2 separate regions of the Homo sapiens genome follow, and region 1 is linked to region 2. Evidence: promoter capture Hi-C in human tissues and cell types (Jung and others, 2019). All regions are on one chromosome and are shown on one strand. Each heading gives the region's core, a stretch centred on a gene start or on the middle of the fragment in contact. The rest is flanking DNA. Distances are from core to core; before and after follow the strand shown. Region 1 holds the start of C17orf99 (chromosome 17 open reading frame 99). Region 2 holds the start of ST6GALNAC2 (ST6 N-acetylgalactosaminide alpha-2,6-sialyltransferase 2).

What was found. Contacts are between HindIII fragments. The study calls those that stand out against the background at their distance.
Region 1: the fragment with the promoter of C17orf99 here is called in contact with the fragment with the promoter of ST6GALNAC2 in region 2 in 1 of the 25 tissues and cell types used here (aorta).

The regions. Positions count from the first base shown.
Region 1 is chr17:78,144,521-78,148,748 of GRCh38, forward strand. C17orf99 (chromosome 17 open reading frame 99) reads left to right here and starts at 1,865. Exons shown (of 5, transcript NM_001163075.2): 1 at 1,865-1,924; 2 at 2,359-2,391. The coding sequence starts at 1,888. RefSeq lists an enhancer at 2,888-3,107. The HindIII fragment of the contact is 10,351 bases long and covers 1-4,228 here.
Region 2 is chr17:76,584,504-76,588,492 of GRCh38, forward strand. It overlaps ST6GALNAC2 (ST6 N-acetylgalactosaminide alpha-2,6-sialyltransferase 2), which reads right to left and starts at 1,357. Exons shown (of 9, transcript NM_006456.3): 1 at 1,181-1,357. The coding sequence starts at 1,305. RefSeq lists silencers at 1,114-1,453, 1,504-1,793 and enhancers at 1,662-2,343, 2,344-3,024. The HindIII fragment of the contact is 21,800 bases long and covers 1-3,989 here.

The DNA.
Region 1 (4,228 bases), core at 615-3,114, 1.6 Mb after region 2:
TTCAGTTCCCTTCCCCACCCGCCTTCAGCAGAAGTGAGAACAGACTTTGGGAAGGGAAGGGAGTTTTACTAAGAAACTAAGAGAAAATGCTCTTGCTCCCCAGCTGGGAGAAACCGAAAACAGAGAGGCCGGTGGGTGCACAGGAGGCAGCCTCCATCCCCGGGACCATGGGTAGCAAGGTGCAGAAACGGACTCATGCCAGCTGGGAGAGGGGGCCACCGAGGGGTCAACAGAGCCAGTCTGCAGTGACCTCCAGGACACCTGCACCTGCCTCCCCACCATCCTTCTGGCCACTCCCTGGTCAGCAGGGCCACTCCCTCAGACCAGCTTCCCAACACACCCAGGCCTCCGGTGCAGCAAGTGCCTGGGAAAGGCTGAGAGGAGAGCTGGGCCGGGGCTGTGAGTGGCCTCCCTTGGTCAGGTGTTCACTCCTGGACGGTGCCCAGGGGCAGAGAGTGTGATTGACCGGTCAGGAGCCACAGGTGGCAGCAGCTCCCACAGGAGGCAATGGTCACCTGGTGGCAGGGGACATATTCCTGAAGGAGGCAGCCAGAAAAGGCATTCCCCACACAAAGTGTGGGAAACTGAGCCGGGCCAGAAAGTGACAGGCTGGTCCAGCAGCCCCAGGCTGAGCTTGGGCACAAAGCCGGGTGCAGTGGCCCACAGCGGAGCTGGCAGGGCCCCAGCCTCAATCCCTTGCGCCCTTACATCTCTCTGTGTTCCGGGGAATGCCTGGCCCCAGCCCTGGCCTCGGGGCTCTGGGAGGCCCTGCTCACCCCCACCCTCCCTGCATGTGCAGGAGGCTCTGTGGCTGAACTCTGCACACACACTGCCTGCGATGCAGCTGGGTCTGCTGCTGGCCAAGGCCAGCACTGGGGCCAGTTCCCTGGGGAATGACCATCCATGTGACCTCCCACCACCCTCAGTGGGGCCTGAGGGACTTCTGAAGGGCGGTGCTTGGGCACACCACGCTCCGGGACCCAGGACTCCAGGACCCATCACACTCCAGGACCAGGGGCCTCGTCGGTCTGGGGTTTCATTCTGGGGCTGGGTGCAGCCTTGGCCTCCCGGCTGTGAACCATCATGGGTGGGGCTGCCTTTTCTCAGCCCAGCAGGTCCCCAGCTGCTTGGAAAGGCCCCAGTGATTACATGAGGGTCACCTGGGTCATGTAGGACGGGCTCCTCCTCTCAAAATGAGAAGACTCACAGCCTTCATTCCCCTTGCCGCGTAGCATGGTGCTCACGGGCTCCAGAAGTTACAGCGTGGACATCTTTTTTTTTTTTTTTTTTTTTGAGATGGAATCTCACTCTGTTGCCCAGGCTGGAGTGCAGTAGCGTGATCTTGGCTCACTGCAACCTCCGCCTCCTGGGTTCAAGCAATTCTCCTGCCTCAGTCTCCCGAGTAGCTGGGATTACAGGCGCACGCCACCACGCCCGGCTGATTTTTAGTAGAGATGGAGTTTCGCCATGTTGGCCAGGCTGGTCTCGAACTCCTGACCTCAGGTGATCCGCCCATCCAGGCCTCCCAAAGTGCTGGGATTACAGGTGTGAGCCACTGTGCCCCGCGGAGCATGGACACCTTCTGCCCACCACGTGAGCCCGGGATCCTGCGGCTCAGAGGTGACTGCTGAGTCTAAGCCCTGGTCTGGCTTCAAGGTCCAAACTCCTTCCACTTCTCTGGGGATTGAGGGGGAGTTTGCTGTACCGGGCCTGCCGGGGCTCTCTGGGCCCCGCCCTGGTAGCTGAGGCCCTGGGGTGCTGCGGCCTCCAGGTTATCTCCCCACTGCAGGCACCCACCCAGGGAGCATCCCAGGGGCCTCAGGGTGGGGGAGGCCAGGAACTAGGAGGTTCTCACTGCCCGAGCAGAGGCCCTACACCCACCGAGGCATGGGGCTCCCTGGGCTGTTCTGCTTGGCCGTGCTGGGTGAGTCCACCAGGGACGTGATGGTGGGGCTGCTGCTGGGGCCTTGAGGTCTTGGGCTCAGGTGGGGGTACTGGGAGCACAGGAGAGATGAGGCCTGAAGGAAGGGCACCTCTGGAAACATGGACAGAGAGGGAAAGATCTGGGCTTGAGTCTCGGACCAGCCCCTAAACTTGCTGTATATGTGGTCCAGGGATTTCTGCACCATTCTGGGCTCACTACTTACCCATCTGCGAAATGGGCGGATGAGAGGCGATGTTGTGGGGGGAGGGGCGCAAAAGAGCTTTTGTGAGTGATGGTGCCAGCTGAGTCCTGGGGCCTCACTACCAAGAATCAGCCTGCTCCTCCCTCCTGGCTTCAGCAGGTGGGTCTCGAGGCTGTCTCTGGTCTCCCCTCCACACCAGGCCCTCTCCTTATCGCCCTTACCTCTCTTACAGCTGCCAGCAGCTTCTCCAAGGCACGGGAGGAAGGTAAGTGGCATAGCCTGCTGCAGGGAGAAGTCCCCCAGCTGGGACCCTGGTGTCAGAACCCCCATGGTGGAGGGCGCCTCGGCTGGGAAGGGAGTTACTAGTGGGGAGGTGTGTGCTGGAGGATGGCTGGACAGTTCTGGAACACTCTCTTCACCCTGCAGGGCCCTAGGAGTGATGGAGATGGGCAGGCCAAGCAGGCCAGTGTGGGGACCTCCGGGGCACACAGGCAGGGAAGTTGCTCAGCTTCCAGCCTTTGGCTGGGCTGTTTGGAGGGAAGATTCCCTGGGCAGGTGCATCCTCATCACTCTGCCCCAGGTCCCTGATCGGGAGCAGAAGCCCCCCCTGAGACCCTCACAGCTCTGCCCGGTGGGCGAGGCCCCGTGGAGGGCTGGGGAATTCTGGTGGGGCCTGGGAGGTTGGGATTCTCTGACCAGGAGGAGGGCCGTGAGAGGATGGTGAAGTTAAGGCTCCCCCAGGGGCCTGACATACACGAGGCTGCCTTCCTTATAGAGGCAGGTGGGGAGTGGAGAGTGTCTGGGACCCAGCTGGGTACAGGACCAGGGAGGAGGGGACGCTGGGGAAGGTCCCTGACAGCCCCTAGCCTGGCCTGCTTCCTCATCTTTGCCTGCTCCATCTTTCTGCCTGCACTTTCTTGCCCCATCCTTCCCTCCCCTCCCCTCATGTCCATTAAGGTGAGGATGGACAGTCACCTCCCTATATTGTCCCAACTAACCCTTGCCCCTTGTTGCTAGGCCATCAGGTTACAGAGCAGGGCCTTCCCCCTCTATTTTGCTAAAGGGCAGGTACAGGGTAATGATGACGCCATTCTCACTTGAATGAGGCCCAGGTTGAACCATTATTTCCTCATTTGCTTTAAAAACGGATACATTGTTGGTGTGGCTGCTAAAAAGAGAGCAGGCAGCTGGGGCTCCGGGAAGTACCTGTGCAGGGCAGTTCCGCCTCCCCCTCTTGGCTGGCTCCCGACTTCTCTGATTCTTGCCAACCAAGTCCTGCTAACTAAACTCCTAAGAGACTGACTGATAAATCATTTATTCATTCAACAAATACTTGAGCACCTGTTTGGTTGCAGGCACAATTCCAGGCCCTGAGAATGTGGCAAGGCACTGAAACAAACCCCTCCTGTATCTTACATTCTAGTGGGGGTTGGGGGGACAGATGATAATAAAAATAAGAACATTCAGTGGCTTATGCCTGTTATCCCGCACTTTGGGAGGCTGTAGCCAAAGGATCAGTTGAGCCCAGGAGTTCAAGACCAGCCTGACCGACACAGTGAGACCCCCATCTCTTAAAAAAAAAAAAAGAAAATGGCTCGATCTCAGCTTACTGCAACCTCTGCCTCCTGGGGTCAAGGGATTCTTCCACCCAGCCTCCTGAGTAGCTGAGATTACAGATATGCACCACCATGCCCAGCTGATTTTTTTGTATAAAGAAAATATTTTTTTAAATTAGCTGGGCATGGTGGGCGGTGCACCTGTTGTCCCAGCTACTCGGGAGGCTGAGGTGGGAGGATTGCTTGTCCGGGAAGTGAGGCTGCAGTGAACCGTAATCATTAACAGTGCACTTCAGCCTGGGTGGCAGAGCAAAAAAAGCACATTCTAAGGTATGTTAGTTAGAATGTTCTAGAGAAAAGCAAGCAGGGTAGAAGGAAAGGGAACACCAGGTAGGTAGGGGAAGGAGGGCAGCATTTGCAGGGGAGGGTGGAGTTTGGGAAGGGGCCGTGCAGCAAGGACCCGAAGGAGCCGACCGAGCAGGAAGTACCTGGGCAGGGACCCTGTGTGGCCAGAACACAGGAAGCAAGGGGCAAAGGGTATTGAAT
Region 2 (3,989 bases), core at 107-2,606:
GGGTCTCTCTCTGTCAACCAGGCTGGAATGCAGTAGTGCAATCACAGCTCACAGCCTCGAATTCCTGGCCTCAAGCTATCCTCCCACCTCCGCCTCCCAGAGTGCTGGGACTACAGGCGTTAAGTCACCGTGGCGGGGCAAGCACCCTTTGTTCTAAGAGTGCTGGACTCCTGATCACTGGCAAGCTGTTTCACATTGTTCTGCAACTTTTGGTGTATCCTTTGACAGCATCTGTGGAGACCAGATACTTATTTTGTTTTCATCCCGTTAGCCCCCCAGCAAGGTTGGTAGGGGGTGCGCAGATGGAAAAGCTCCAGGAAGGGAAAGGCTGGGGCTGGAGGCCTCTCCCTGAGGCTGCCGGGCCCTTCCCTCCTCCCAAACCCAGACTTCGCACGGCTTGGTCCGCCTTTCTTAAGCTAAGCGAAATCGTTTTGCGGCTTCTTCAGTCACCGGAACCACCACCTGCTAGAGGCCGGCTCCCAGGTTCTCCTCGTGGGACACCCAGGAAAGTGCCTAGGGAGGAGGAGGGAGTGGAGCGCAGGACGCGGCGCGGGGAGGAGAACGCGGATGGAGCCAGGAGTCACCCCTCTTTCCCTCGGGCGCCCGCCTCTTCGCGGATCGCGCCCGCACTGGGCTTATCCAGACACGGCGAGCGGAAGCCGGGGAGAAGGGAGCGGGCGCGGGGCGGACAGAGACCGCAGCGGGCGGGAAAGGCGACTGGCCGCGGCCCGACGGAGGGTCCCCGCGAAGTTGGAAACCGGAGACTTGGGCCCCTGCCCAAAAAGCAGAATCTGACGTTACCGAGGGAGAGTTCCCGACAAAAAAGGAAGTTTTTATCTGCTTCGGGGACCCAGCCAGATTTCGACAATAGAAAGTGTACTTATCAGGCCGGGGAGGACTTCACCAACAAGGGGCACCGGGGCGGGTCGCCAGTGCACAGGGGCGAGGTCTTCCTTGGACCCAGGCAAAGGCCGCGGGGTCCGGGCAGCGCGAGGTCAAGGCTGGGAGAGGGTTCTGGCGACAAAGGGCCGCGGCCGAGTCCTCGCTGAGAGCTGCCCCAGAGGGGTCCACGCGGAGGTTGGGCTGAGGGCTGCGGGCCGCCGGGGAGCCCTGGGCTGGGGACCCTCCCCGCGCCCTGGTCGCCCCTGCGCCCTCCCGCTCTGCGCTCGGCAGCCCCTACCTGGCTCCGGCCGCTGGCCCCGGGTACCGCTGCACCGCCGAGAAGTACAGGGCAAAGAGGAGCCCCGAGCAGGCAGCCGTGAGCAGGAGCAGCAGCCAGAAGAACGACCCGCGCGGGAGCCCCATACAGCCCCGGCCCGCGAGCGCCCCGTCCGCTGACGTCCCAGGCAGAAGGGAGAGAACCGGGTGGGCCGGGTGGCACTTGCGGAGGCGGCCGTCTTGCCCTGCCCCGCCCTGCCCGCCGGGTGCCTGCGGCGCCTGCCCGCCCGGCAGCTCCCTCTCGGCCCCGGCTGAGTGGCCAGAGGCTGCCGCACCCTCGGGAGCTGGGCGGCGGGTCCCCCGGGGCTGGAGTGTCGTCCCGGCGCCCAGAGCGCGCGCTCCTTTGGCCCTGCCCCCTGCCCGGGGGACTTCGGCAGCGGCCACTCCTGCCACTGCGCTCTCTCCAGAGCCCAGCCCCGGGAGGCCGCCAGTCTCGGGTTGGGCAGGGCGCTTTCCTCGCGCCGTCCGGGGCTAGCTAGGCGCGGGTAGACGCCGCCACCTGCTGCGCTGGCTGCGCTCTGCCCTCTGCGGGCCCGGCACTCGGCCTCTAGACTCTGTGGCGGGTGGGCGGCGGCCGGGAGGAGATGTGCCCGGCTCCCTCCAAAGGACCCTCAGATCTGTCAGTCTGCGGACGCCAGGACAGCTGGGAGGGGGCGGGCAGGGTGGAGGAGCAAAACCCGACAGCTCAGTCTCTGGGCTGGCGGTAGAGGGGGGAAAAGGGGGTGAGGTGGGGAGCTTGCCGTGATGGGTTTCGTGGGGGAGCTAAGGCTGTCAGCGCTTATTTGGTAACCATCCAGGGTGGCCAGTCCCCTCAATCGCATTGAGTTCCTTTCACAGAACGAGGCCAGTCAGAGAGACCACCTGAAATGTTCAGCACAACGGGTTCCCAAACTTATTGGCACCAGGGACTGGTTTCCTGGAAGACAATTTTTCCACGGAGGGGGGTGGGGGTGGGGGGGTTGGGGATGAAACTGTTCCACCTCAGATCATCAGGCATGAGTTAAGATGCTCTCATAAGGAGCCCGCAACCTAGATCCCTGGCATGCGCATTTCACAAAAGGGTTCGCACTCCTTTGAGACTCTAATGCCGAGGCTGATCTGAAGGAGGCGGAGCTCAGGCGGTAATGCTCCTTCCCCCTCCACTCACCTCCTGCTGCGATGCCCTGTTCCTAACAGGTCTCGGACCAGGCTTGGGATTGGGGACCCCTGGTCTAGCAGGCTCCAGCATCAGAAAGGGCTGGGAAGCTCAGCACCCGTGCTCTCTAAGTGGAACACTCCCTGGCAGTGAGTGATGGATGAGATGGGTGTGCTTCAGTGGCCACTGTTCGGCAAGCTGTGACATGCGGCAGGCTGTGACATGCCCCAGACTCCCAACTGTCAGCAGGCTGCAAGGATGAGAGGGACCTAGGCTACCGTGTCACGGGCCTTTGGCTCTAATCTGTTCTTCATGTATCCGAGGAAGTCTGGGTGCAGCAACAGGTACCTGTCTGATTGCAAGGCTTCCCGAAAACCTCCCAGGGCCTGGGCCTGTGGTCAGGAATGGCCATTCAGTCCATCCAGTCTCAGTACTCCTACCAAGTCAGGGTCACTGGAGGTCACTCACATTGGGCCAGTTCTTTCCTTCACCCCAAGACTGCTCAGCAGAGCCAGACTCATCTTGCTACCCCGCAGATGGGCACTACTTGGAATTTATGGTGTCACGACTTTCATTTCAATCTTTATGGGTTTACTTGTCAAAATTCCTGTAGATGTTACTTATCCCCTGATCACTGGCTTCTCACATTTCCTCAGACCTTCTCTCTGTGCCCATAAATATCCCTCCTAGCCCTTGCTCTCAGTAAGTGCCTTACCCTCTACTTCATGGAGAAAAGGAGAATCATTCATTAGTAATTTATTCAACTTCCACTTACAAACCTACAAACTTGGCCCCCACACACAGCCCAGCCTCTCCCTGCCGGGACTCTAGTCTTTTTTTTTTTTTTTTTTTTTGAAACAGCCTGTTACCCAGGCTGGAGTGCAGAGGCGTGATCTCGGCTCACTGCAACTTCCACCTCCCAGGTTCAAGCGATTCTCCTGCCTCAGCCTCCCCAGTAGCTGGGATTACAGGAGTGCACCCCCATGCCCAGCTTTTTTTTTTTGTATTTTTAGTAGGGATGGGGGCTTTACCACGTTGGCCAGGCTGGTCTCAAACTCCTGACCTCAGGTGATCTGCCCACCTTGGCCTCCCAAACTGCTGGGATTACATGTGCGAGCCACTGCGCCAGGCCTCAGGACTCCAGTCTTAAGAGCTGGGGAGAGGGTGCTCTCCTCCTGTGTGGGAGTTAACCCCCTATCTGTGTTAATAATCCAGGTCCACCTCCAATGCCTTAAATGGCAGTACTCCCCTCACACCAAGATCTCCTATCCACCCACCTGGAGTTCTCCTTCCTCCCATCTTCAGCCTCACAGGACCTCCAGGGTCTCCATCCTTCCCTTTTCTCCCAGTGGGCCAACCCTCTCTCAGCAGCTTTCTTTCCTATCTAGGCAGGACTCCCTGGGTTATAATCTGAGCTACTCCTGCATCAGTAACCCAGATTCTCTTGTGTTCCTGGCTTTCTTCCCAGCAAAACTCTGACCTGGATTCACTCTTGCCTCTGCCTCTCCTGTGCTGCCTGTCCCTGGCCTGGCTGAGTGCTGCAGGGGTCAGGGGTCAGGTGTAGCTCATTCCAGAGTGTGAATTGGGAACACAAGTTTGGCCTCAGCTGGCTCTCAACATCAGCCATTTCCTTATC